Linked DNA regions of Homo sapiens: regions 2, 3, 4, 5, 6 and 7 are each linked to region 1. The links are contacts of gene promoters, found by promoter capture Hi-C in human tissues and cell types (Jung and others, 2019). All regions are on one chromosome and are shown on one strand. The core of a region is centred on a gene start or on the middle of the fragment in contact, and the rest is flanking DNA. Distances in the headings are between cores, read along the strand shown.

Region 1 (3,492 bases), core at 424-2,923:
CTGCCTCAGCCTCCCGAGTGGCTGGGATTACAGGCACGCGCCACCACGCCCGGCTAATTTTTGTATTTTTACTATAGACGAGGTTTCACCATTTGGCCAGGCTGGTCTCGAACTCCTGACCTCAGGTGATCCGCCCGCCTGGGCCTCTCAAAGTGCTGGCGTGAGCCACCGCGCCTGGCCAGGAATGTGGATTCTGAGAAGCTGCAGAGCTGTGAAAAGCAGGAGACCCATGTGCAGATGTGGTTGGGTTGGGGGTGGAGGGTTCTGTCTTTTCTGAGGTTGTACCTTTGGCGCCTGGGGCCATTTCCTGGACAGTGTTTTGGTTTTAGCATTCATGGGGTCGCTGAGTCAGGCTGTAATTTGTATACATGAAGAAAATCTGTGAGGGTCAGACTCAGTGAAAAACTTGTTTGCATTGTCCCCTGGAGAAAAGGTTTGGGAACATGACAATTTATTTAGGTCACGACTTTACATTGACTCCGGGTGAGAGTTTCCTGCTGGTACAAATGAAGGTTTTGAAGGAAAGAGTGTTTCCACACTGTGAGGAGAGGACTGGAGGGCACCTTGAGCTCCCAAAGTTGAATTCTTAAGTGTCCCTGTCTCATCACCAGGTTCTGATCCACACTGGGGTTCCATTTCAGCAGTTAGAGTCTGGGTCCCAAGCTTGGGATTATTTTATTTTATATTTCATTTCTTCATTTCATTATTTCATTTCATTTCATATTTCATTTTTTAGTCTCGCTCTGTCGCCCAGGCTGGAGTGCAATGGCGCTATCTCGGCTCACTGCAACTTCCCCCTCCCAGGTTCAAGCGATTCTCGTACCTCAGCTTCCCGAGTTGCTGGGATTACAGGCACCTGCCACCACGCCTGGCTAATTTTTGTATTTTTAGTAGAGATGGGGTTTCACCATGTTGGTTAGGCTGGTCTTGAACTCCTGACCTTAAGCAATTTTCTCACCTTGGCCTTCCAAAGTTCTGGGATTACAGGCGTGAGCCACCGCGCCCGGCGCTTGGGAATATTTTTAACGTTATGATTGTGGGTTTTCCTTGTGAACTGCGGGTGAAGCAGGCTGCTTGTCTGAGCTAGTTCAAATGTTTGCTTACTTCTCTTGGTTTCTTTATAGATGATCGCTGTCATAAAAACTCCAGTTTTTCCTATACATTTAATACTTTTATTTCTTTGTCCGTTTTAATTTTCTTGCCTGAAAGAAGCAAGCCCTCCTCCCTCCTGTTACACTGTGGTCTGGCCTGGCCTGGGCGCGCCTCCTACTCCGAGGCCAGGGGATGGCTCCACTGGACGCCGAGTCTGTCATTCCCTGTGCACACTTGTGACTCTGTGTCCGGGAGGAAAAGGCAGGAAGGGCACCCTGAGTGCAGAAACACGCCAGTGTCACCTCTGCAGAGCCTGAAACACTTTCTGCTTAAATGCAAATATCCTCCCCGGCACAGAAGGTTACAGAAGGAGGAAGCCCGGCCCGCGAAGGGCAGTGGCCAAGACCCTGTCAATCTGTCTTTACTCAGCCACATACCGCATTGCTTCTCCTGTCACTCAGTACCAAGGGGGCAGGACTTGAATCATCACCCAATCAGGGGCACTGGGGCGGGAACCTGCAAACCATCCAATCAGGAACTCTGCAAGGGGGACAGGGGCAATGTTCAACAACTCCGCGGGGTCTTCCTGTTTCGTGTCCGCTGCGTTTGGGTTCCGGTCTCCGCTTCTCCAGTGGCCCCGGTGGCTCCACCGCAGCGTCTGGCGCGCTGGGACCTGCACAGGCCGGAGAGAGCCGTAGGCAGGACCCCGGGACACCCTGGAAGCCAGGAAATGGTGCGTGTGCGGGGCCGGGCGCCTGGAGACTGGGGGAGGGGCTTGTGGGAACCGGCCGGAACCGGCTGTGGAAGCACCCTGGCCTCCCTGCAGCGACTCCAGGGTCTGGGACCCGAGTTCCCTGGCGCAGCTCGGCCCTCTGTCCCCTCGGCCGCAGGGTGGGTTGGGCCGTAGCCAGTACCCCAGGCGTCCTGTCCCGTCCCTGCGCGGCGACTGCGGCCTCGGCCTCGGAGCCCTGTCTGGGCAGCTCCGCGCCCGCAGCCCCGCCTCTCTCCAGATTGTTTGTACTGGGACACGGGAGGGTCATAAGGCGGAATCCCGTCTCGGGTGTGCGGTTCGTGCATGGGAAGAGCTGTGGGCTGTGGCCTTCCCAGTACATCGTCTTTTTTTCCGGGGGACTGGTCTTCCTCCGAGTCTTCCAAACGTACTGGAAAAAGAATCTCAAACCTACGACTCCCGTTTTTTTTAGCCTAGCTTTTTCTGGGGCTGGAAATAAATGCCTAAATTTCCGGTTCCTTCCCCGCATTCCCAAAGGTGACCTCCCCTCGCCAAATCAACATTATCAGCTGTTTTTTGTTTGACATTTAAGACACAGTATTTTAGTTGTTTATAGTTTCTTTCACCATACTCTTTTGAAAGGATTTGTTTTCTGTTTGTTGTTTTTTTTTTCTTTTCAGACAGAGTTTCGCTCTGTCGCCCAGGCTGGAGTGCAGTGGGAAGATCTCAGCTCACTGCAACCTTCGCCTTCCGGGTTCAAGCAATTCTCCTGCCTCAGCCTCCTGAGTAACTGGGATTACAGGCATGCGCCGCCACGACCGGCTACTTTTTGTATTTTTGGTAGAAACTGGGTTTCTCCATGTTGGCCAGGTTGGTCTCAAACTCCAGACCTCAGGTGATCCGCTCACCTCCGCCTCCCAAAATGCTGGTATTACAGACGTGAGCCACCGCGCCCGGCCTCTTGTTTGTGTACTTGTAACCTGAGAGGGAAACGGAGAATAAGAACCTGACACTCTACGGTAAAATTTTTTTTTTTTTTTGAGACAGAGTTTCGCTCTTATTGCCCAGGCTGGAGTGCAATGGCGCGATCTCAGCTCACTGCAACCTCCACCTCCTGGGTTCAAGCGATTCTCCTGCCTCAGCCTCCCGTGTAACTGGGATTACAGGCATGCGCCACCATGCCCGGCTAATTTTGTATTTTTAGTAGAGACAGGGTTTCTCCATGTTGGCCAGGCTGGTCTCGAACTCCCGACCTCAGGTGATCCGCCTGCCTCGGCCTCCCAAAGTGCTGGGATTACAGGCGTGAGCCACCGCGCCCGGCCGTGGTAAAAAAATTTTTGTGCTTCCCCTCCTTTTATCTTTCCTAAGCCCCGACGCCTAATCAGAATGTCTTTGGGTGGAGTTTCCCCTTTGGAAACTTTACAAGGTGATGTGGCCCTCTATCTTTTCCTGGTCCTGATTTTCAGAACTGCCTGGGCCTGACCCAGGATACCCACAGCTGCCACTTCTCTTGGAGGATCTAGTGATTATCAACCCCTGGGTCACTCCTCCCAGAGGACAGCTTAAGGTGTAGGGGTGGGGCCTCTCACGGGAGCAGCTGTATGCCCTGAGGTGGGAGGAGTCTCCCGGTATCCCCTTCCTCTGAAAAGTTTACCCTTTGGGACGCTCAG
Region 2 (3,492 bases), core at 357-2,856, 860 kb after region 1:
CCATTTTCAACAGAAAGACACAGATACCTTAAATAGAAAGGTATGGTGAAATATATGCCATTCTAGCCCTACTCAAAAGTATGGAACGGCTATATTAAATTCAGATAAATCAGGTTTTTTGGTTTATTTATTTATTTATTTATTTTTCGAGACAGGGTCTCTGGCACCCAGGCTGGGGTGCAGTGGTGTGATCACAGCAACCTGTGCCTCCCGAACTCAAGCAATCCTCCCACCTCATCTGGGACTACAGGCGTGTGCTACCATGCCTGGCTAATTTTTGTATTTATTTTTTGTAGAGACAGGGTCTCTCCATGTTGCTCAGCTGGTCTTGAGAACTCCTGGGCTCAAGTGATCCACCCATCTTGTCTTCCTGAGATGAATCACGAGGTCAGGAGATTGAGACCATCCTGGCTAGCATGGTGAAACCCCGTCTCTACTAAAAATATAAAAAATTAGCCAGGCGTGTTGGTGGGCACCTGTAGTCCCAGCTACTCGGGAGGCTGAGGCAGGAGAATGGCGTGAACCCGGGAGGCGGAGCTTGCAGTGAGCCGAGATGGCACCACTGCACTCCAGCCTGGGCGATGGAGCGAGACTCCATCTCAAAAAAAAAAAAAAATACACATTCAAAGTGGTAATTGACATAGATTAATATGTTCATATATATTGTTTGTTGTACTTGTGCTTTTTTTCTACTTGCTCTATTTTTCTGCCTTTTAATTGAGCGTTCTATATGATTCCATTTGCTTGCTTCTATTAGTGTAGTAAGTCTACTTGTTTCTTAAATTTTATTAGTGAATTCCATAGTTTGCAGTATACATTTGCAACTAATGGACTTTCATTTTCAAATAACACTATACTGGTGTCTGGGGTAGTGCCAATATGTTAAGAGTGTTCTGAATTCCTCTTTCCAATCCCATATAATATCACTGTCACGCATTTGACCTGTTAGAAGCTATAACCACCCAATACATTGTTGATATTCATTTGAACAAACATTTATCTATGAAGGAGAAGAAAAGATAATCATATTTGTGCCCTCATTTAATTATTTTCTAACAAGTTTTATTTCTGAAACATCTGCTTTCCTAACCTGTATCAGTTTCCTTCGCTCTGAAGAACTTTAACATGACTGGCAAGGCAGGTATACTAGTAACACATTCTCTCAATTTCTTTCCTCTTTCTTTTCCACAGACTGGTAATTTTTTTCTTTCTTTTTTTTTTTTTTTTTTTTTGAGATGGAGTTTCACTCTCGTTGCCCAGGCTGGTGTGCAATGGCGTAATCTCGGTTCACTGCTACCTCCACCTCCTTGGTTCAAGCTATTCTTCTACCTCAGCCTCCCAAGTAACTGGGATTACAGGCATGCACCACCACACCCAGCTAATTCTGTATTTTTAGTAGAGACAGGGTTTCTCCATGTTGGTCAGGCTGGTCTCGAACTCCCGACCTCAGGTGATCCACCCACCTGGACCTCCCAAAGTGCTGGGATTACAGGTGTGAGCCACCGCGCCTGGCCCAGACTGGATAATTTTAATTGTTTCATCTTCACAGTTGCTGATTCTTTGTTATGTTAGCAAGTAGTGAATTGGCTCACTTCCAGATGTACACACAAGCCAATAGCATGGCACCAGCTTTTGAAGAAAGAAAAGCTTTACTACAAGTTTGACTGGCAAGGAGAAAGGAAGAAATGCTCAAATATGTCTCCCTGAGCTGGGGGCTTTGGCAAGTTTTATAAGCGTGGGGTAATAAGACATGAACTCACTGCATCTTGCAATGATCTCATGCCAGGTTAATGTGACTCGATTGGATCCTGCCATGGGATGATACCGGGGCCCAACCTGATTAGATCCTAGATTCCACCATGTGGTATCTTTTTTTTTTTTTTTTTTTTGAGACAGAGCCTCACTCTGTAGCCCAAGCTGGAATGCAGTGGCATGATCTCGCTCACTGCAACCTTCACCTCTGGAGCTCAAGCAATTCTGCCTCAGCCTCCCAAGTAGCTGGGACTACAGGTGTGCGCCACCACACCTGGTTAATATTTTGTATCTTTCACAGAGACAGGGTTTTACCATGTTGCTCTGGGTGGTCTTGAACTCTTGAGCTCAGGCAATCCACCCACCTCAGCCTCCCAAAGTGCTGGGATTACAGGCATGAGTCACCGTGCCCAGCATCTACTTTTTACTTTAATCTCCACACCTCAGTCCAAGCATATAGGTTCCACCCATGGTTACACATTTGGTTCATCTGGGCATGCTCAGATTATGTGACCTTGAGTGTTGGGTCCATGGCAACTGAAAACTCAGCTTTGTTATATAGAAGTTGTACCACATAATCTGTTGTGGTTACAAATCCCTCCTATTATGTTCATTCCTAAGTCTTGAAGGAAAAGGAATGATAACTGCTCTAACTACTTTCTGCTGATTAGAGTCATAGACCTTAGAGGAATGAAAGTATTTAGTGCTTTGCTCTGGGAGTTCCCTGGTATCAGCCAGGTGCGGTGGCTCACGCCTGTAATCCCAGCACTTTGGGAGGCCGAGGCACGTAGATCACAAGGTCAGGTCGATTGAGACCATCTTGGCCAACAGGGTGAAACCCCATCTCTACTAAATGACAAAAAATTAGCTGGGCGTGGTGGTGCGCACCTGTCTCTCAGCCACTTGGGAGGCGGAGCTTGCAGTGAGCTGAGATCACGCCACTGCACTCCAGCCTGGGCAACAGAGCAAGACTCCGACTCAAAAAAAAAAAAAAAAAAAAAAAAAAAAAGGAGTTCCCTGGTATCAAGATCACATTTTAGAAGGCGTTATTTCTACATAGTTCTGGGGAAAAGGCATAAGGAGTTTGCAACCTAAACATTATTTGTTCCAGAGAACAAGGGAAAGCTTAGGTTTTATAGCAAAAGTTCCCATCTGGGTTCCTAGTCAAGTGCTTTTATGCAAATGAAGATCTGAAACTTGAAACTCAGTTCTGATTGGTTGATACAGCTGAGCTCTGATTGACTAGCTCAGGTGAGCCCCCAAAGTTAAAAAGGTGTTGGTTTTCAGGAAACTCACAGTGCTTGTGACCCCTAGTTAACAAGTGGCGGCTTAGCTCTTTTTAAAACTTAGGCCCAGTTAGCCAGTGTGAAGGACTGACTCTAACCCGTCCACAGACAGCATTCATAAGTTTTTGTGTGTGTTCTATCATGGTACCAGTGACCTGCTGTGGGTCCATCCCATGCAGGGATCCTAATGGCAGGGCAGTGGCCAGTTGGGCAACTATAGCCATTTACTTATAAGAGGTTCTCAGGAACCTGTTAAATTTTAGCCAAAATCTCTTGGGTTAAGTTGGTTTCAGTGGCCAGCTGGAGTGAGTTTAAAATCTCAAGTATTAGGTCAGCAAGAACCTAGTGGGGGTCTCTTGGAGGCATCTGTTGAAACAAGATAGAACAATTTTAAAGAGGAGCCAAATGCATATTTTAAATAGGATCATTGAGACTTGTAGGGCAGAATGGAGAA
Region 3 (3,492 bases), core at 608-3,107, 790 kb after region 1:
GGAAAGCAGATGCCACCTTCCAAATAGTCTCCTATAATGTGTTCAGATTGGATGGGCTTTATCCTTTAAGTAACAAGTTGTGACAAAATGTGGGAAATGTTATCTACCAAAAAAAGCTCATAAGAGACCCAGTGGTGAGTGGTTTTTTCATGCTTATCCTAGTATGTTTTCTGTTGCTTATAACAGAATAGTAGAAGCTGAGTAATTTATTTAAAAAACAATATTTCTTCCAGCCTGGCCAACATAGTGAAACCCTGTCTCTATTAAAAATACAAAAATTATCCAAGTGTGGTAGCATGTACCTGTAGTCCCAGTTACTAAGGAAGCTGAGACAGGAGAATTGCTTGAACCCAGGAGGAGGCAGAGGTTGCAGTGAGCCGAGATCGTGCCACTGCACTCCCATCTGGGCAACAAAGCAAGAGTCCATCTAAAAAGAAAAGCCAAAAAACAACAAAAAAAATTATTTATTATAGTTCTGGAACCTAGCAAGTAAGAGGGCTTCATGTGGTGAAAGCCTTCTTGGTCATGGGGGCTGTGCAGAGTTTCTAGGTGGTTGAAGGTATCACATGGAGAATGGGCTGAATGTGGTAGCTCAGGTTCCCTTCTTTTTTAATATGGCCATCAGTCCCACTCCTGAGATAACTCATTAATTCAGTAAGCCATGAATTCATGAATGGATTAATTTATTTATGAGGTCTGAACCCTTAAGATCTACTCACCTCTTAAAGGCCTCACCTTTCATTAGTGCCACATTGGCGATTATGTTTCAACAAGCATTTTGGAGGGGACAAACATTCAAACCTAGCAGTGAATGGCCGGGCGCGGTGGCTCACTCCTGTAATCCCAGCACTTTGGGAGGCTGAGGTGGGTGGATCACGAGGTCAAGAGATCGAGACCATCCTAGCCAACATGGTGAAACCCTGTCTCTACTAAAAATACAAAAATTAGCTGGGCATGGTGGTGTGCGCCTGTAATCCCAGCCACTCGGGAGGCTGAGGCAGGAGAATCGCTTGAACCCAGGAGGCGGAGGTTGCAGTGAGCCGAGATTGCGCCACTGCACTCCAGCCTGGAGACAGAGCAAGACTCTGTCTCAAAAAAAACAAAAACAAAAACAAAAACAAGCAAAAAACCTAGTAGTGAATGATCAGGTATGCTCCCTCTGCCAAGCATATCACAAAAGTTTGAACTCTCAGAGGGAACATAGGAGTTCAGCAGATACCATATTTTTTACATAGTTTAGGGACACTCATCCTCCATTATCGCTTATGTTGGTGAAGCCCCCTAACTAAATTTAGTTCCTAGATATAGTGAAAGGTTCAACTTTGTGAGCAAGCATTTGTAACAATATGCGGTCTCAGGACAGCTGATGTTAACTCTTCTGCCCATTAGGTAGGAGGACTTTGTCACATCAGGAATTACAAACATCCTGTACACATAGATATTAGGGGTGATCTAGGCAATAAATGTCACTCCTTTAACTCACCAAGGAGTGGCATTTTATAATTCGACTGTTATTTTACCAAACACGTTTAATTCTAGCATTAGAATTGCATTCTGGGAGAAAATGAGTTTAGAAAGAGGGTAAGAGTTGGATTACCGTGTCGTTGCATAAATGTTTGGACACCACAGCATCATGTGACATTTATGTAGTGAGTACAGATTCCCAGTGCTGTCAGTTTCAGCTTTCCTCCTCTGCACGTGTCGGGTGTTTCAGGACTCAGTGGCCTTTGAGGATGTGGCTTTGATCTTTTGCCTGGGAGGAGTGGGCTTTGCTGGGTCCATCATAGAAGAGTCTCTACAGAGATGTGCTACGGGAAACCATCAGGAACCTAGACTGTATAGGTAAGGGGGACATCATGTCTTTACTTAGTCAATTACGAATATTTGTTTCTTCGTCACCAATGCTGTTCAAAGATTTAGAATATAAAAGAAATACGTTTGACCCTTGAACAATGCAGGGATTAGGGGCACCAGCCCTCAATGCAGTCACAAATCTTCAAATAACTTTTTTCTCCCCCGCAACTTGACTACTAATAGCCTACTGTTGACCAGAAACCTTACTGGTAAGATATACATTCAATTAACACATATTTTATATGTCATATGCATTACATATTGTTTTCTCACAATAAACTAAGGCAGAGAAAAATGTTAATCAGAAAATCACAAGGAGAAAAAACTATATTTACTATTTCATTAAGTAGAAGTGGAGCATCATAAATGTTATCATCCTTATTGTCTTCACATTGAGTAGGCTGAATAAGAGGAGGGGTTGGTCTTGCTGTCTCAGTAGTAGCAGAAACTGAAGAAAATTTGTATGTAAGGAGATCTATGCAGTTCAAACCTGTGTTGTTGAAGAGTCAACTGTGGTTTGGTGAATAAATCATCCATAACTGCAGTCTACATAAAATCTTACATTTTTAATATAATTTTATTTTTATTTATTATTATTTTTTTTTTGAGATGGAGTCTTGCTCTGTCACCCAGGCTGGAGTGTAGTGGCACGATCTTGGCTCACTGCAGCTTCTGCCTCCTGGGTTCAACTGATTCTCCTGCCTCAGCCTCCCGAGTAGCTGGGACTACAGGCGCACGCCGCCATGCCCGGCTAATATTTTTTTGTATTTTTTAGTAGAGACGGGGTTTCACTGTGTTGCCCAAGCTTGTCTCGAACTCCTGAGCTCAGACGATCCACCCACCTCGGCCTCCCAAAGTGCTAGGATTACATGCGTGAACCACCGCCCCCGGCCTCAATGTAATTTTATAATAATATATAGTGATTCTTCTGGGTCTACATTTTAGGAATGAAATGGGAAGACCAAAACATTAAAGATTAGTACAAAATTCCCAGAAGAAATCTAAGGTAATTTGCCCTAGGAAGAGAAAGATATGTCTTTGGAATAATTCTTAAAGTGACAGGAAATTTTTCACACCTATAATTCCAGCACTTTGAAAGGGTGGGGGGGTGGGGCGCAGTTCAGGAGGTCGGGAATTCGAGACCAGTCTGGCCAACATAGTGAAACCCTGTCTCTACTAAAGATACAAAAAATTAGCCAGGCGTGGTGGTGTGAACCTGTAGTCCCAGCTACTTAGGAGGCTGAGGCAGGAGAATCGCATGTACCCGGGAGGAGGACGTTGCAGTCAGTCGAGATCATGCCATTGCACTCCAGCTCAGGCGAAAGTGCAAGACTCCGTCTAAAAAAAAAGACAGGAAAATTTTAAAACAAGCAAAATAAATAAATAAATAAATAAATAAAAAAGAATAATCCTGGCTTAAATTTATTCACTCTTAGAAAATTTTCTTCAAAAACATACTTAAATGGGACATAGCTGTTAAGTGTGTCTGCAAAATAATTTCCTTGGAAAACAGTACTAAGAATTCCCACGTGAATATTACTGTTCCGATGATAGCCACAGTTGAGTTATCTTGCACAGCATTCAGTCCGTTCATGTTCAAACAGGGCATGACACCTAAGCTTTGCATGATAATGTCAA
Region 4 (3,492 bases), core at 311-2,810, 710 kb after region 1:
TGGCTTACACCTGCAATCCCAACATTTTAGGAGGCCAAAGTGGGAGGATCACTTGAAGCCCGAAGTTGAAGACCACCCTGAGCAGTGAAGTGAGACACTCCCATCTCCATAATTTTTTTTTTATTAGCCTGGAGAGGTGGTGTGTACCCTTAGTCTCAGCTACTCAGGAGCCTGAGGCAGGAGGATTACTCGAGCCCCAAAGTTTGAGGCTGCTGTGAGCTTTGATCAGGCTACTGTACTTCAGCAAGACACGGTCTCAAAAAAAAAAAAATCCCACCAAATTCCCTGGGGAAACCCTGACCCCCTTGGATGGTCTAATTGTAAAACACAGAGGGTGGTGACGTTTCCTTATGGACTGGATCATTCTAGCCATGTAAGAGGCTTGGACTACTGAGGATTTACCAGGCGGATGACCTCCTTGCTGTCAATGTAAAAGGCCCCTGGTGAAACCATCCCTTTAAACTTTATCAAATTCATCAGGGAGGAAGGGAGGAGGAAAACTTAAACCAAGCTGGCAGCACCTTCAGCATTAATCATTAAGTCAGCTTGTTCTCTGACCTTCCTCATATTTGTTTCATACCTAGTGTCCTAGAATCCCACAGACCCTAAATGATAGTTCCCGTTAACTGCTCTATAGACATCAACTTGAACATTAGATGTTCTCCCTTTGAATTTCCATTCGAAATATTTCCTTTTCAGGGCTGGGTGCATTGGTTCATGACTGTAATCTCAGCACTTTGGGAGGCTGAGGTTGGGGAATCACTTGAGCCTGGGCGTTCAAGAACAGCCTGGAAAATACAGTGAGACTCCATCTGTACAAAAAAATTTATAAACAATTGGGCATGGTGGCATGTGCCTTTATTCCCTGCTACTTGGGAGGCTGAGGCAGGAGGATCCCTTGATCCCAGGAGTTTCTGCAGTGAGCTATATGATCCCACCACTGCACTCCAGCCTGGGAAACAGAACCACACTATGTCTCTTAAAAAACAAAAAAGAAAAAAGAAATCCAGACATTTGTTGGTCTTTGGATTATTGGAGAGCATTTATCTGACACTTAGCCCAAAGTTTGATACCAATATATAGAATTATTAGAAAGGGGCACTTTGAGACTGGGACACAGCTCTGCAGGAAGCTTTCGACAGGTTAATGTGTTAGTATGCTGCCATACTAACTTCAGCAAGACCTGGTCTCAAAAAAAAAAAAAAATCCCACAAAACTCTCTGGGAAAACCCTGACAACCCTTGGATGGTCCAATTATAAAACACAGCAGGTAGTGATATTTCCCTATGGACTGGATCACAAGCCTCAGGCACACCTTTAGAGGGTAGAGCTGTGAGTTGGGATGATACAGCTGCTGCTGCAGGTACAAATTGGGCCTTATGGCAAACACAGTGTGGTAAATCAGTTCCTTTAGGATTTTGGTTGTAATTATGTCATAGAGATGAAACCAGACACTCTTGAAGTGAACAAGTGCTGGCAGTATATGATGCTCTCAAGTAGGTAGAATCCTTAAAAAAGAACCTTTCTATGACTGTGAGAATGGGATTACCATGCTCGGCTAATTTTTTGTATTTTTAGTAAAGACAGGGTTTCAACATGCTGTCCAGGCTGGTCTTGAACTCCTGAGCTCAAGTGATCCACCCGCCTCAGCCTCCCAAAGTGCTGGGATTACAGGTGTGAGCCACTGTGCCAGGCCTCCCACTAAGTTTCTTTCATTTGGCCTGGCACAGTTTCTCACGCCTTAATCTCAGCACTTTGGGTGAGCGAGGCGGGTAGATCGCTTGAGCCCAAAATCTTGGGCTATGACCACCCTGGGCAACATAGTAAGACCTAGTTTCTATTTACTTTTATTAAAAAAGAGAATATATATATATACACACACATATAAAAGAGGCCGAGCACAGTGGTTCACACCTGTAATCTTAGCGCTTTGGGAGGCCAAGGCAGGTGGATCACCTGAGGTCAAGAGTTCGAGACCAAGCTGGCCAACATGGTGAAACCCCGTCTGTAACTAACAAAACGAAAATTATCCAGGCGTGGTGGTGCACACCTGTAATCCAAGCTACTCGGGAGGCTGACGCAGGAGAATCACTTGAACCCAGGAGGCAGAAGTTGCAGTGACCCGATATCGTGCCATTGCACTCCAGCCTGGGCAACAAGAGCAAAAACTCCATTTCAAAAACAGAGAGAGAGAGAGAGAGAAAGGAAGTTTCTTTAACTCCCTAGTTGTTATGGGCTATCACTACTATCACCAGCAGTTGCCTATGAAGCAAAACCTATTCTCACAATGGGTCCAAGAGGAAAAGTAGAAGACTTGGAGACATTCCAGGTAGATCCAAATGCAGCACTTGTACGACAGTATATGGTTAATGTGAGGACTCTTGGGGTGACTTAGCTCAGGCTGGTATAACAAAATACCATGGACTCATACCATGGACTCAGTTTCTTAAACGGCAAACATTTGTTTCTCACAATTCTGGAGTGCGGGAAGTCCAAAATCTTGCTGCCAGCAATTTTGTTCCCAGTGAAGGCTATCTTCCTGGCTTACAGCTAGATGCCTTCTTGCTTTGTCCTCCCATGCTGGAGAAACAGAGAATTCTCTCTCTTCTTACTAATCCCATTATGAGGGCTCTCCTTTATAAATGTATGTGATCTCCTAAAAGGTCTGTGTCCAAATATGACCCTGTTGGGGTTTAGGGCTTGTAAGTATACATTTTATTTTAGAGACAGGGTCTCCCAGTGTGGCCCAGGCTGGTTTTAAACTCCTGGGCTCAAGGGATCCTCCTGCCTTGGCCTCCCAAAGTACTGGGATTACAGGCATGAACCACCGCACCCGGCCTCTAAGTACACATTTTGAGGAGAGTAAATGCAGGACACGCCAAGGGGTAAACAGAAGTCCATAAAAGAGGCTTTGGAAACAATGTAATCAGACAGTGTTGGAGGCTGAAAGAATGGGGGTCCTGATCAACTCAGTATACCACTGGAGGCTAATGAGCAAACAGCAAACTCTTCTCATGAATGCAGCTTGTTGGCAAACTGACAAACTACGTCTGCCACCCAGAAAGAATGCTGAGGGCAGTTACTCCCCAAGCGCAGTGTTTCTTGTGATTATCTACAGGCACATCTGAAGCCTGTTGTACAAAGAAAGTAATCATGTGAACCTGTGATAAATCAAGCAGCTGACCAACCATTACCTCCTCCTCCCTGCTCTTTCTACCCAATAAAAACAAAGGGCTATAGAAGCTCAGGGCCCTTGCTCACTAGAAGCAAGGAGCCCCCTGATCCCTTCTTTAACATAGATCTTTTGTCTTTATTTCTGCATCTGCCCTTCTTCATTCAGTCCCATAGTAACCATCACAAGACAGGACTTTATCACATAGCAGATGGAGAGCTAGAGTCAAAAAGGAGTGAGGTCCAATTTCAGAATGGCAGAGAGAATGGACATCGAGGTAGCTGTATGATTGCATGAAGGATCAAAATGCATGCCAGGGC
Region 5 (3,492 bases), core at 833-3,332, 670 kb after region 1:
GGGAAGGAAAATTCTAAGATAACTTAAGTGCATTTAAAAGATTTCCAGATCGTGGTGGAGGTGGCAGCTGAGGGACGCACGTTCAGTGACACTGCAGTACCTCCGGGCCTGGCTGGTTGGAGAGAGGGTGGAGAGCTGGAGATGAATGTGGATATATGGAGGGAGCAGCCCTGGGAACCGGGCTCTGCAGCAGCGCGGCTCTAGGGCCTGGAGCCCGGGGGAGCAGAGATGATGGGGGCTCCTGGGACAGGACGCTTGGGGAGAAGAGAGTCAGGCGGTTTCCATGGGACAGGGGTGCTGTGGCAGCTGGTGTGGGCCTGTGGCTATCATAACTAAGCCCGATTGGGACGTGAAAACTTGGATTCCGTGGGAATTTATGAAGAGGAAGGCTCTGATGACAAAGAAGTCATCGATGAGGAGAGGGATTAGGGTCACTGGCAAGCTCGCCCCCTTATGGAAAGAAAAGTGAACGTTCAGCTACTGCGGCAAAATGGGGTCAAAGGATGAGACTCTCACTGTCAGGGAATAAATTGCTGCAGAACTCTTAGAGATTGCAAAGACCTTCAAACAACAGCCTGGGAGGCCGGGTGCCATGGCTCACGCCTGTAATCCCAACATTTTGGGAGGCCAAAGTGGGAGGATCGCTTGAAGCCCGAGATTGGAGACCACCCTGAGCCGTGAAGTGAGACCCTCCCATCTCCATAAAAAATTTTTAATTACCAAGGAGAAGTGTGTGTACCTACAGTCTCAGCTACTCAGGAGGCTGAGACAGGAGAGTCACTTGAACCCCAAAGTTTGAGGCTGCTGTGAGCTATAATTGGGTACTGCGCTTCAGCAAGACACTGTCTCAAAACAAACAAACAAAAAATTAAAATCCCACCAAACTCCCTGGGGAAACCCTGTACCCCTTTGATGGTCAAAGTGTAAAATACAGCAGGTGGTGACATTTCCTTATGGACTGGATCATTCTAGCCACGTAAGAGGCTTGGCCTACTGAAGATTTACCAAGCGGGATCACCTCCTTGCAGTCAGTGGAAAAAGCCCCCGGTGAAACCATCCCTTTAAACTTTATCAAATTCATCAGGGAGGATGGGAGGAGGAAAACTTAAACCAAGCTTGCGGCACCTTCAGCATTAATCATCAAGTCAGCTTGTTCTCTGACCTTCCTCATATTTGTTTCATACCTAGTGTCCTAGAATCCCATAGACCCTAAATGATAGTTCCCGTTAACTGCTCTATACATAACAATTTGAACATTAGATATTTTCCCTTATAAATATTCCTTTTTGAGTTCTGGGTGCATTGGTTCATAACTGTAATCTCAGCACTTTGGGAGGCTGAGGTGGGAGGATCACTTGAGCCTTGGAGTTCAAGAACAGCCTGGGCAATAGAGTGAGACTCCATCTGTACAAAAAATTTAAAAACAGCCGGGCATAGTGGCATGTGCCTTTACTCCCAGCTACTTGTGAGGCTGAGGCAGGAGGATCCCTTGAGCCCGAGTTTCTACAGTGAGCTATGATCCCACCACTGCACTCCAGCCTGGGAAACAGAGCCATACTATTTCTCTTAAGAAAAAAAATCCAGACATTTGTTGGTCTTTGGATTATTGGAGAGCATTTATCTGACACTTAGCCCAATGTTTTAGAAAGGGGCACTTTGGGACTGGGACACAGCTCTGAAGGAAGCTTTGGACAGGTTAATGTGTTAGTATGGCAGGCACAAGCCTCAGGCACACCTTTAGAGGGTAGAGCTGTGACTTGGGATGATATAGTTGCTGCTGAGGGTACAATTTGGGACTTACGGCAACCACAGTGTGGTAAATCAGTCCCTTTAGGATTGTGGTTGTAATTATGACATGGAGATGAAACCAGACACTCTTGAGTCAGTGCAGGCAGTATATAATGCTTTCCAGCAGGTGGAATCCTTAAGAAAGAGCCTTTGCATGACTGTGAGAATGGGAGTACCATGCCCAGCTAATTTTTTTGTATTTTTAGTAGAGATGTGGTTTCACCATGTTGTCCAGGCTGGTCTTGAACTCCTGAGCTCAGGTGATCCACCCGCCTCAGCCCCACAAAGTGCTGGGATTACAGGTGTGAGCCACCGTGCCTGGCCTCCCACTAAGTTTCTTTCATTTGCCCTGGCACAGTTTCTCATGCCTTAATCCCAGCATTTTGGGTGGCTGAGGTGAGTAAATCGCTTGAGCCCAAAAGTTTGGGCTATGACCACACGGGGCAACATAGGCCTAGTCTCTATTTTTATTAAAAACAGAATATACACACACATATGAATGAGAGGCCGAGTGTGGTGGTTTATGCATGTAATCCTAGTGCTTTGGGAGGCCAAGGCAGGTGGATCACCTGAGGTCAAGAGTTCGAGAACCACCTGGCCAACATGTTGAAACCCCATCTCTAACTAACAGTACAAAAATTATCTGGATGTGGTGGCACGCACCTGTAAACCCAGCTACTTGGGAGGCTGAGGCAGGAGAATCACTTGAACCTGGGAGTCAGAACTGGCAGTGAGCCGAGATTGCATAATTGCACTCCAGCCTGGGTAACAGAGCAAAAACTCCATCTCAAAAAAAAAAGCAAGAAAAAAAAAAAAGAAAAACTTTCTTTTTAGTCCCTAGTTGGTAGGCTATCACTAATATCACCAGCAGTTGTCTATGAGGCAAACCTGTTCTCACAATGGGTCCAAAAGGAAAAGTAGATTTGGAGACATTACAGGTAGATCCAAATGCAGCACTTGTACGACAGTATATGGTTAATGTGAGGACTCTTGGGGTGACTTAGCTCAGGCTAGTATAACAAAGTACCATGGACTCAGTTTCTTAAACAGCAGAAATTTGTTTTTCACAGTTCTGAAGCTTGGGAAGTCTGAAATCTTGCTGCCAACAATTTTGTTCCTAGTGAAGGCTATCTTCCTGGCTTGCAGCTAGATGCCTTCTTGCTTTGTCCTTACATGCTGGAGAGGCAGAGTTCTCTCTCTCTCTTACTAATCCCATTGTGAGAGCCCTCCTTTATAAATGTATGTGATCTCCTAAAAGGTCCGTGTCCAAATATGACCCTGTTGGGGTTTAGGACTTGTAACTATAAATTTTGTTTTTGAGACAGGGTCTCCCTATGTGACCCAGGCTGGTTTTAAACTCCTGGGCACAAGGGATCCTCCTGCCTCAGCATCCAAAAGTACTGAGATTACAGGCGTGAGCCACCGCACCCGGCCTCTAAGTATATATTTTGAAGAGAGTAAATGCAGGGCATGCCAAGGGGTAAACAGAAGTCCAAAAAGAGGCTTTGGAGACGATGTAATCAGACAGGACTTTATCACATAGCAGATGGGGAGCAAGAGTCACAAAGGAGTGAGGTCCAATTTCAGAATGGCAGAGAGAAGGGACATCGAGGTAGCTGTATGATTGCATGAAGGATGAAAATGCATGCCAGGGCCACTACATGGAAAAGTATTGTAATTATCTAGGAAAAAATGAGAATAAAA
Region 6 (3,492 bases), core at 421-2,920, 600 kb after region 1:
CTTACATTTATAAGGTCTTTCTCCAGAGTTCATTCTTATGTGTGTTTGAAAACTTATAAGATAGGATAAGCCTTCCCCATATTGCTTACATTCATACGGTTTTTTCCCAGAGTGGGTCCTTTCATGTCTACGAAGAGAACTGGTATATGCAAATGCTTTTCCACATTCTTTGCATTGATAAGGCTTCTCTCCCATGTGACTTCTTTCATGTCTATGATAGGAACTAGAACTATGAAATGCTTTATCACATTTGCTACATTCATAGGGCTTCTCCCCAGTGTGAGTTCTTTCATGTATTTGAAGGGTAGCAGAATAAGTAAAGGATTTACCACATTGTTTACATTCATATGGTTTCTCTCCAGTGTGAGTTCTTTCATGGATAAGATATAAACTGAAAGAATGGAAGGCTTTCCCACAAAATTTACATTTATAAGTTCCATCCCCACTGTGCATTACCATGTGTCTTCGAATGCTTGAATGGAAAATAAAGGTTTTTCCACAGACTTTACAAGCATAGGGTTTCTCTCCAGTGTGATCCCTTTCTTGTGTTCTAATGGATGGGCGATACCTGAAGGCTTTCTTATTTTTAGGTTGTTGACACTTATATGGCTTTGGTCCATATTCCTGATACTCATATGCCTTGTGTCCAGTGTCACCTCTGATGCTCATATTAAAAGATGAGTTACCTATGCCAACTTCTGCACACACAAAGCTGTCACATGATTTTACTTCAGGAGAAGCTTTCTTCTCCTGGAAGTTCAGTCTGTCATCTGGAACCTGGGTAAAAGTTTCTCCACAATGACTGTCTTCTTTAATTTCATTGACTTTCTCTTCTATGAGACTCCTGTAAAACATGAGAAACACATCATGAAGGGTTTGTTTACAAGTACTTCTATATTAATCAACAAGTATTGCACTTGCATTTTTAACACTGTCCATCAAAGTGTAGGCTTTCTGCCCTGTCTGAATCGTTTGAAGGTGACTGGACATGTTCTACAAGATGACCCAGCCATACCTATTGTTTAAAAAAATATTCATAAGGGGCTTCTTAATAGTATTCCCATGTAAACTATTTTACAATTACTAAATACTGTATGTCATTTTTCTTTTGAGTCCAGTTCTTGTCCTGTTGCCCATGCTGGAGTACAGTGATATCATCATAGCTTACTGCAGCCTTTAACTCCTGAAGTCTCGAGTGATCCTCCTGCCTTCGCCTCCTGAGTAGCTGGGACTACCGATGCATACACACCACAATGCCCAGCTAATTTTTTGCTGTTGTTGATATGTGGTCTCGTTATGTTGCACAGGCTGTTCTGGAACTGATGGCCTCAAGCTATCCTCCTATCTCCACTTCTCAAAGGACTGGGATTACAGGAGTGAGCCCTCAGCCTCAGTCACGTTTAAATATATGTTTTTTGAGAAAATATTCTAAGAAGAAATGAATTTGATGCTGGATTTAGTTCTTTGTTTTACTTCTCTTCAACATATTCTCATATTCTAAGATTGTGCAGAGAGACACTGCTTTCTCTTGGAAATGCAAATTACCTGAAGCTTCTTCTGGGGTTTTGGTACTCATATTCAATGTTCTGGTCACTCCATTTTTTTCCTAAAATACAGACACAGAAAAATAGTCCTGAAGCAGTATAAAATTGTGAAAAAATTATTAGATTCTGTGCCCATGATTTACTGCAGCCATGCCTCATTTATTCATCAAGGTATTTCCTGTCTATGTTCAAAATCACTCAACAGCATTCATGAGCTAGAAACACTGGTTTGCTAATGCACTGACGGAAGGAATATTGTCATCCTTACCTATAGAGGTCAGGTTCCTGAAAGTTTCCAGCATCACTTCCCTGAAGAGATTCTTCTGGGAAATATCCAGCAATGTCCACTCTTCCTGGGTGAAGTTCACAGCCACATCCTCAAAGGCCACTGGGTCCTGAAACATCTCACATGTGTAGAGGAAGATGGGTGAGAGTGACAGCACTGGAGGCCTAGACTCTATTCCCAAGAAGTTCTCAGGATGCTGTGGACTCCAAACATTTATTCCCTGCTTCGGTTATCAGATCCCTTTCTCTCCATCTATACTTACTTTCTTCCATAAAGCAATTTATTTATTTATTTATTTTTTGAGACAGAGTTTCACTCTTGTTGCCCAGGCTGGAGTACAATGGCGTGATATTGGCTCACCACCGGGGTTCAAGCGATTCTCCTGCCTCAGCCTCCCGAGTAGCTGGGATTATAGGCATGTACCACCACGCGTGAGTGACCTTTACCCTTTCCCTCTTGTAGTGTGAGTGTTGTCTTGTCTCGAAAGAAAAATGGGTCAGACACAAAGTAAGCCCACCCCACTAGGAACTATGTTATAAAAAATTTCAAAAAGGGATTTAAGGGAGACTATGGAGTTACTATAACACCAGGAAAACTTAGAACTTTGTGTGAGACAGACTGGCCAGCATTAGAGGTGGGTTGGCCATCAGAAGGAAGCCTGGATAGGTCCCTTATTTCAAAGGTATGGCACAAGATTACCTGTAAGCCAGGGTATCCAGACAAGTTCCTGTACACAGACACTTAGTTACAGCTGGTTTTAGACCCCCCACAGTGGTTGAGAGGACAGGCAGCAGCAGTGTTAGTGGCAAAGGGACAGATAGCCAATGAGGGATCTCTCCCCACCCGCCAAGGGAAGTCAGCTCCTAAAGTTCTATCTGACCCAATGTCAGAGGACCCATGGCAGGAAATGGCACAGCAATGCCCCCCGTCCTTACCTAGAAGAGAGACTCCCCACTCCTGAGCCCACAGCACCTGTGCCTCCTCTGGACAGATACACCCCTAGACCACCCAGAACAGACAAGAGAGAATGTGAAGCTGCGGGAGAAACCCCTCCCTTGGCAGCTCATTTACGATCTAAGACTGGAAAGACAAGTGCCCCCAGTTAAAGAAGAAACAAAATGGCTCCAAGCCAGAGGTCTCAGGCAAGGATGAAAGGGCCTTGTTTAATCTGGCAGAAGGGCTACTGGACTAAGGGGGACCAGGCTCAGGTGCCCCTAACGAGCCCATGGTCAGGATGACAGTCAGGGACAAGGACATAGAGTTTCTTGTCGATACTGGTGCTGAATATTCAGTAGTAACCACCCCGGTCACCCCCTTATCCAAAAAGACTATTGATATAATCGAAGCCACACGAGTCTCGGCAAAACAAGCTTTCTGCTTGCCCTGCACTTGTACTATAGGGGTACATGAAGTAATCCACCAGTTCTTGTACATGCCCGACTTCTCCTTGCCCTTGCTGGGAAGGGACTTGCTTAGCAAGCTGAGAGCCACCATCTCTCTTACAGAGCACAGCTCTTTTACAGCTAAAGTTACCCGGAAAGGGAGTCATCATGGCCCTTACTGTCCCCCAGGAGGAGGAATGAAGACTTTTCTTAACCGAGCCAGGTCAAGAGATAAGACCAGCTCTGGCTAAGTGATGGTCAAAGGTGTGGGCAGAAGACA
Region 7 (3,492 bases), core at 285-2,784, 570 kb after region 1:
GAGGTTGCGATGAGCCGCGATTGAGCCATTGCACTCCAGTCTGGGCAACAAGAGTGAAACTCTTGTCTCCAAAAAAACCAAAACATTTTCAGGCAGTATAAGATTTTCTAGAGAGAGAATGCTTTATCTTGTGAGGGAAACTTACCTTAGATTATTCCTGAGATTTTTGTACTGATCTTCAATGATCTGGTCTTTCCATTTTTTTCTTAAAATACAGATCCATAAAAAATAGTCCTGATTATAAAATTATGGGGTTTTTTTTGGAGATGAGGGTCTCACTCTATCACCCAGGCTGGAGTGCAATGGCATGATCACAGCTCACTGCAGCCTCAACCTCTTGGGTTCAGGTGATTCTCCTACTGCAGCCTCTCAAGTAGCTGGGATTACAGGTGCATGTCACCATCCTGGCTAAAAAGTTTGTAGAGATAGGGTTTCACCATGTTGCCCAGGCTGTTCTCAGACTCCTGGGTTCAAGTCATCCACCCACCTTGGCCTCTCAAAGTGCTAGAACCACAGGCATGAGCCACCATGCCCAGCTATTATAAAATTAGTTTAAAAATTATTAGATTCTATGTTCATGGCTCACTGCAGCCATTCCTGATTTATCAAAGTTTTCCCTGTCCATATTCCAAATCACTGAACAGCACTGAAGAGCTAGAAACACTTGTTCTTTAATAAACTGAGGGAAGTAATATTGTCACGTGATAGTTTGAATGTATGTTCCCACCCAATGTCATGAGGAACTGCAATCCCCAGTGTTGGAGGTGAGTCCTGATGGGAGTTGTTTGGGTCAGGGGGACCTATGGCTTGTTTCTCTCATGGCTTGTTGCTGTCTTTGTGATAATCAGTGAGTTCTAGTGAGCTGCACCTTCCTACACCACTCTCTCTGTCTCACTCCTGCTTTCGCCATGTGACTGCCTGCTCCCCGTTCACCTTCCGCTATGATTGAAAGCTTCCTGAGGCCTTCACCAGAAGCTGAGCAGATGCTGGTGCCATGCTTCCTTTACAGGCAGATGCCAGGCAGACGTCACTGTGAATCACTGTGCCCAGCAATGAATAATTCTTTACAAGGGGACAAACCCTGTCTGGACATGGTGACTCATGCCTGGAATCCTAGCACTTTGGGAGACTGAGCTGTGAGGACTGCTTGAGACAAAGAATTAGAGAACAGCCTGGGCAACACAGCATAATCCTGACTCTATTACTTAAAATTCTAAATAAAAGTCTGAAAAGCAGCATTTCCCACCTATTCTCTCTGAGGGAGCCTTCATCTACATAACAAGGTCTCCTTTGCTAGCCAAGCTTCTTCCTTTCCTTTAGCATAATCTGTCTTGCCATTAAAAATGACTTCCCCACCAAACCTGGAATTTTTTTGGCCATGCCAAGTCTGCATTTTTCCTGGCCTCAGAATGGTATGTAAGCTTTTTTGTCTTATTGTTGGGTGGGTCCTCATTCTGAAGGCTCCCATATATACATGTTAAATAAATTTGTATGACTTTTCTCCTATTAATTCGCCTAAGTTCCTTGATCTGAAAATTTTTTTCCTGTTTTCTCACCTTATTTTATTAAAAAAAGTTCAAAAACAAGCATATCTAAAAATGAGCATTTTCATATCCCAGAAATCAAGGTATTTTCCATAGATAACCAGAAAATGCTATTTAGTAATTGCCTAACATCAACACAGAGTGATATTAAAACCTTATTGTGTAAAGTGGAATTCTGGAAGCTTAGCTTTGAATACATTTCATTTTGTCTGTGAAACATTGAAGAGTGTGTGTGGTGTTATGATATGTATTGGTTTTCATCCAGGGTAATAATGTTGGGTGTGTTAGACCTCTGGGGAAGGCCCCTGACCTGCTGCCCTCTTTCCACTCTAATGTTTCCCCACCTTTTTGATTGTGGGTCTTAAAACCCTCCCATGAGAGGGTCCCACTGACTTCATGAAGACTTTTAGCCTTGGAAATACTCGTGATATTCCCTATCTGTAGCTGTGTGTCTGAAGTTAGCTCAGAATAAACCACAAGTGTGTAGATTGCTAAAATAACTTACTTCTAAACACTGAAACTCAAAAACTGCAGATTTCTTTGTCTAAGCAGATGCAGAAAAGCAGAAGTTATAAAGCATCCGGACTCAAACAGGCACCATCACTGCCTTCTAAAATTAGTAGCCTTCCTGGCATATGAACACCCTTTGGGCCTGTGCTCCAGTGTCTCTTTGGGTTGGTCCTTGGGCTTTTTGTGAAACATCAAGACACCTCCATAGTCTAGGCCAATGTCAGGCTCTCCAGTGTGTCCTGTTCATCACCCTCACCCTGCACTTTCATTGTCACTGTCATTGGCCATTCCAACATTGTGCTTGCATCCTGTGGAAAGTCACATTTGGGGTCAAGTGGATGGTGTTGTTTCTACTGTTTGGTTAAAAGTGTCAGGGTGTATTTGGCCTTCAAGGGAGGATAAGGCAGGGGTTGGATTCAGGTGCACCCAACTCTTGTTTTTTTCATTTTGAGACAGAGTCTTGCTCTGTCGACTAGGTTGGAGAGTGCAATGGTGTGATCTCAGTTCAGTGTAACAACCACCTCCCAGGCTCAAGCGATTCTCCTGCCTCAGCCTCCTGAGTATCTGGGATTACAGGGATTACACCACGATGCCCAGCTAATTTATCTATTTCTTAAGGTTTCACCATGTTGGCCAGGCTGGTCTTGAACTCCTGACCTCAAGTGATCCACTCTCCTTGGCCTCCCAAAGTGCTAAGATTACAGGTGTGAGCCACCGTACCTGCTCAGGTGCCCCCACCTCTGTCACTGCCCTGTCTTCCCTGCTGTGAATCATGCTGTGTGATCTGACAATCAATGATTCCACCCTTCACTGATGTGGATACATTATCTGGGACTGGGTATGTCATCTCCACACACAGACAGGGTTTGGTCAGTGATTGATGCTGCATCCCGTGATGCCTGGACTTTGACCTTAGGGAGTTTTAAATAAGCGTTTCTGAAGAGCAGCTTCATTGGAACCTTAATGAAAATGAATTTTTCCATGCCATTGCATAACATATAAAAGTGACTTTTCCATGTTGCCATTAACTTTACATGGCTGAAATAAACAGGCTGTTGACAAGTTAGTATCAACAGCACATTATCAGAGAAAGAAAAGGCTGTATTTAGACAATTTACATTATTATTGTAATTTATTAGCTTCCTGTGACTCACTAAACCAACCTGAAAAAAATAGCTTTCTAAGGTATAAATGAATTTCTATGTTTTACCCAACGTACTTTCTGGTAAACAGCACCCATACATTTTATGAAATATTTTAGTCTTTAGAGAATAAGGCAAAAACAGCTCCAGGAGTCTAGAGCTGACATCCCCTCACCACAAGGCCAAGTCTTTTTTTTTTTTTTTTTTGAGACGGAGTTTTGCTCCTGTTGCCCAGGCTAGAGTGCAATGGCACAATCTTGGCTCACTGCAACCTCTGCCCCCCAGATTCAAGCGAT

The links. The method cuts DNA at HindIII sites, captures the fragments that hold promoters and counts their contacts. A contact is called where the count stands out against the background at its distance.
Region 2: a contact is called between a fragment that was not itself captured here and the fragment with the promoter of ZNF564 in region 1, in 2 of the 25 tissues and cell types used here (hippocampus and lymphoblastoid cells).
Region 3: a contact is called between a fragment that was not itself captured here and the fragment with the promoter of ZNF564 in region 1, in 1 of the 25 tissues and cell types used here (lymphoblastoid cells).
Region 4: a fragment that was not itself captured here is called in contact with the fragment with the promoter of ZNF564 in region 1 in 3 of the 25 tissues and cell types used here (IMR-90 fibroblasts, dorsolateral prefrontal cortex and hippocampus).
Region 5: a fragment that was not itself captured here is called in contact with the fragment with the promoter of ZNF564 in region 1 in 2 of the 25 tissues and cell types used here (aorta and lymphoblastoid cells).
Region 6: a fragment that was not itself captured here is called in contact with the fragment with the promoter of ZNF564 in region 1 in 4 of the 25 tissues and cell types used here (IMR-90 fibroblasts, dorsolateral prefrontal cortex, hippocampus and 1 more).
Region 7: a contact is called between a fragment that was not itself captured here and the fragment with the promoter of ZNF564 in region 1, in 2 of the 25 tissues and cell types used here (hippocampus and lymphoblastoid cells).

Annotation. Positions count from the first base shown.
Region 1 is chr19:12,549,663-12,553,154 of GRCh38, reverse strand. It overlaps ZNF564 (zinc finger protein 564), which reads left to right and starts at 1,673. Exons shown (of 4, transcript NM_144976.4): 1 at 1,673-1,825. The coding sequence starts at 1,823. It overlaps LINC02926 (long intergenic non-protein coding RNA 2926), which reads right to left and starts at 1,429. Exons shown (of 2, transcript NR_187485.1): 1 at 286-1,429. RefSeq lists enhancers at 1-120, 121-622, 1,406-1,700, 1,766-1,875, 2,534-3,036 and a silencer at 2,106-2,185. The HindIII fragment of the contact is 29,302 bases long and covers 1-3,492 here.
Region 2 is chr19:11,687,329-11,690,820 of GRCh38, reverse strand. No RefSeq gene overlaps it. Among named protein-coding and RNA genes, the nearest start is that of ZNF823, 50 kb to the left of the region's middle. The HindIII fragment of the contact is 6,716 bases long and covers 1-3,492 here.
Region 3 is chr19:11,758,156-11,761,647 of GRCh38, reverse strand. No RefSeq gene overlaps it. Among named protein-coding and RNA genes, the nearest start is that of ZNF441, 7.1 kb to the left of the region's middle. The HindIII fragment of the contact is 5,499 bases long and covers 1-3,492 here.
Region 4 is chr19:11,843,590-11,847,081 of GRCh38, reverse strand. No RefSeq gene overlaps it. Among named protein-coding and RNA genes, the nearest start is that of ZNF439, 3.4 kb to the left of the region's middle. The HindIII fragment of the contact is 5,747 bases long and covers 1-3,492 here.
Region 5 is chr19:11,876,436-11,879,927 of GRCh38, reverse strand. No RefSeq gene overlaps it. Among named protein-coding and RNA genes, the nearest start is that of ZNF69, 9.6 kb to the left of the region's middle. The HindIII fragment of the contact is 3,977 bases long and covers 94-3,492 here.
Region 6 is chr19:11,945,628-11,949,119 of GRCh38, reverse strand. ZNF700 (zinc finger protein 700) reads right to left here. Exons shown (of 4, transcript NM_144566.3): 2 at 1,813-1,939; 3 at 1,546-1,606; 4 at 1-844. It also overlaps a transcript of ZNF69 not described here. Among named protein-coding and RNA genes, the nearest start is that of ZNF763, 18 kb to the left of the region's middle. The HindIII fragment of the contact is 4,250 bases long and covers 1-3,492 here.
Region 7 is chr19:11,980,293-11,983,784 of GRCh38, reverse strand. It overlaps ZNF763 (zinc finger protein 763), which reads right to left. Exons shown (of 4, transcript NM_001367172.2): 4 at 3,168-3,492. Among named protein-coding and RNA genes, the nearest start is that of ZNF433-AS1, 5.6 kb to the left of the region's middle. The HindIII fragment of the contact is 4,224 bases long and covers 1-3,492 here.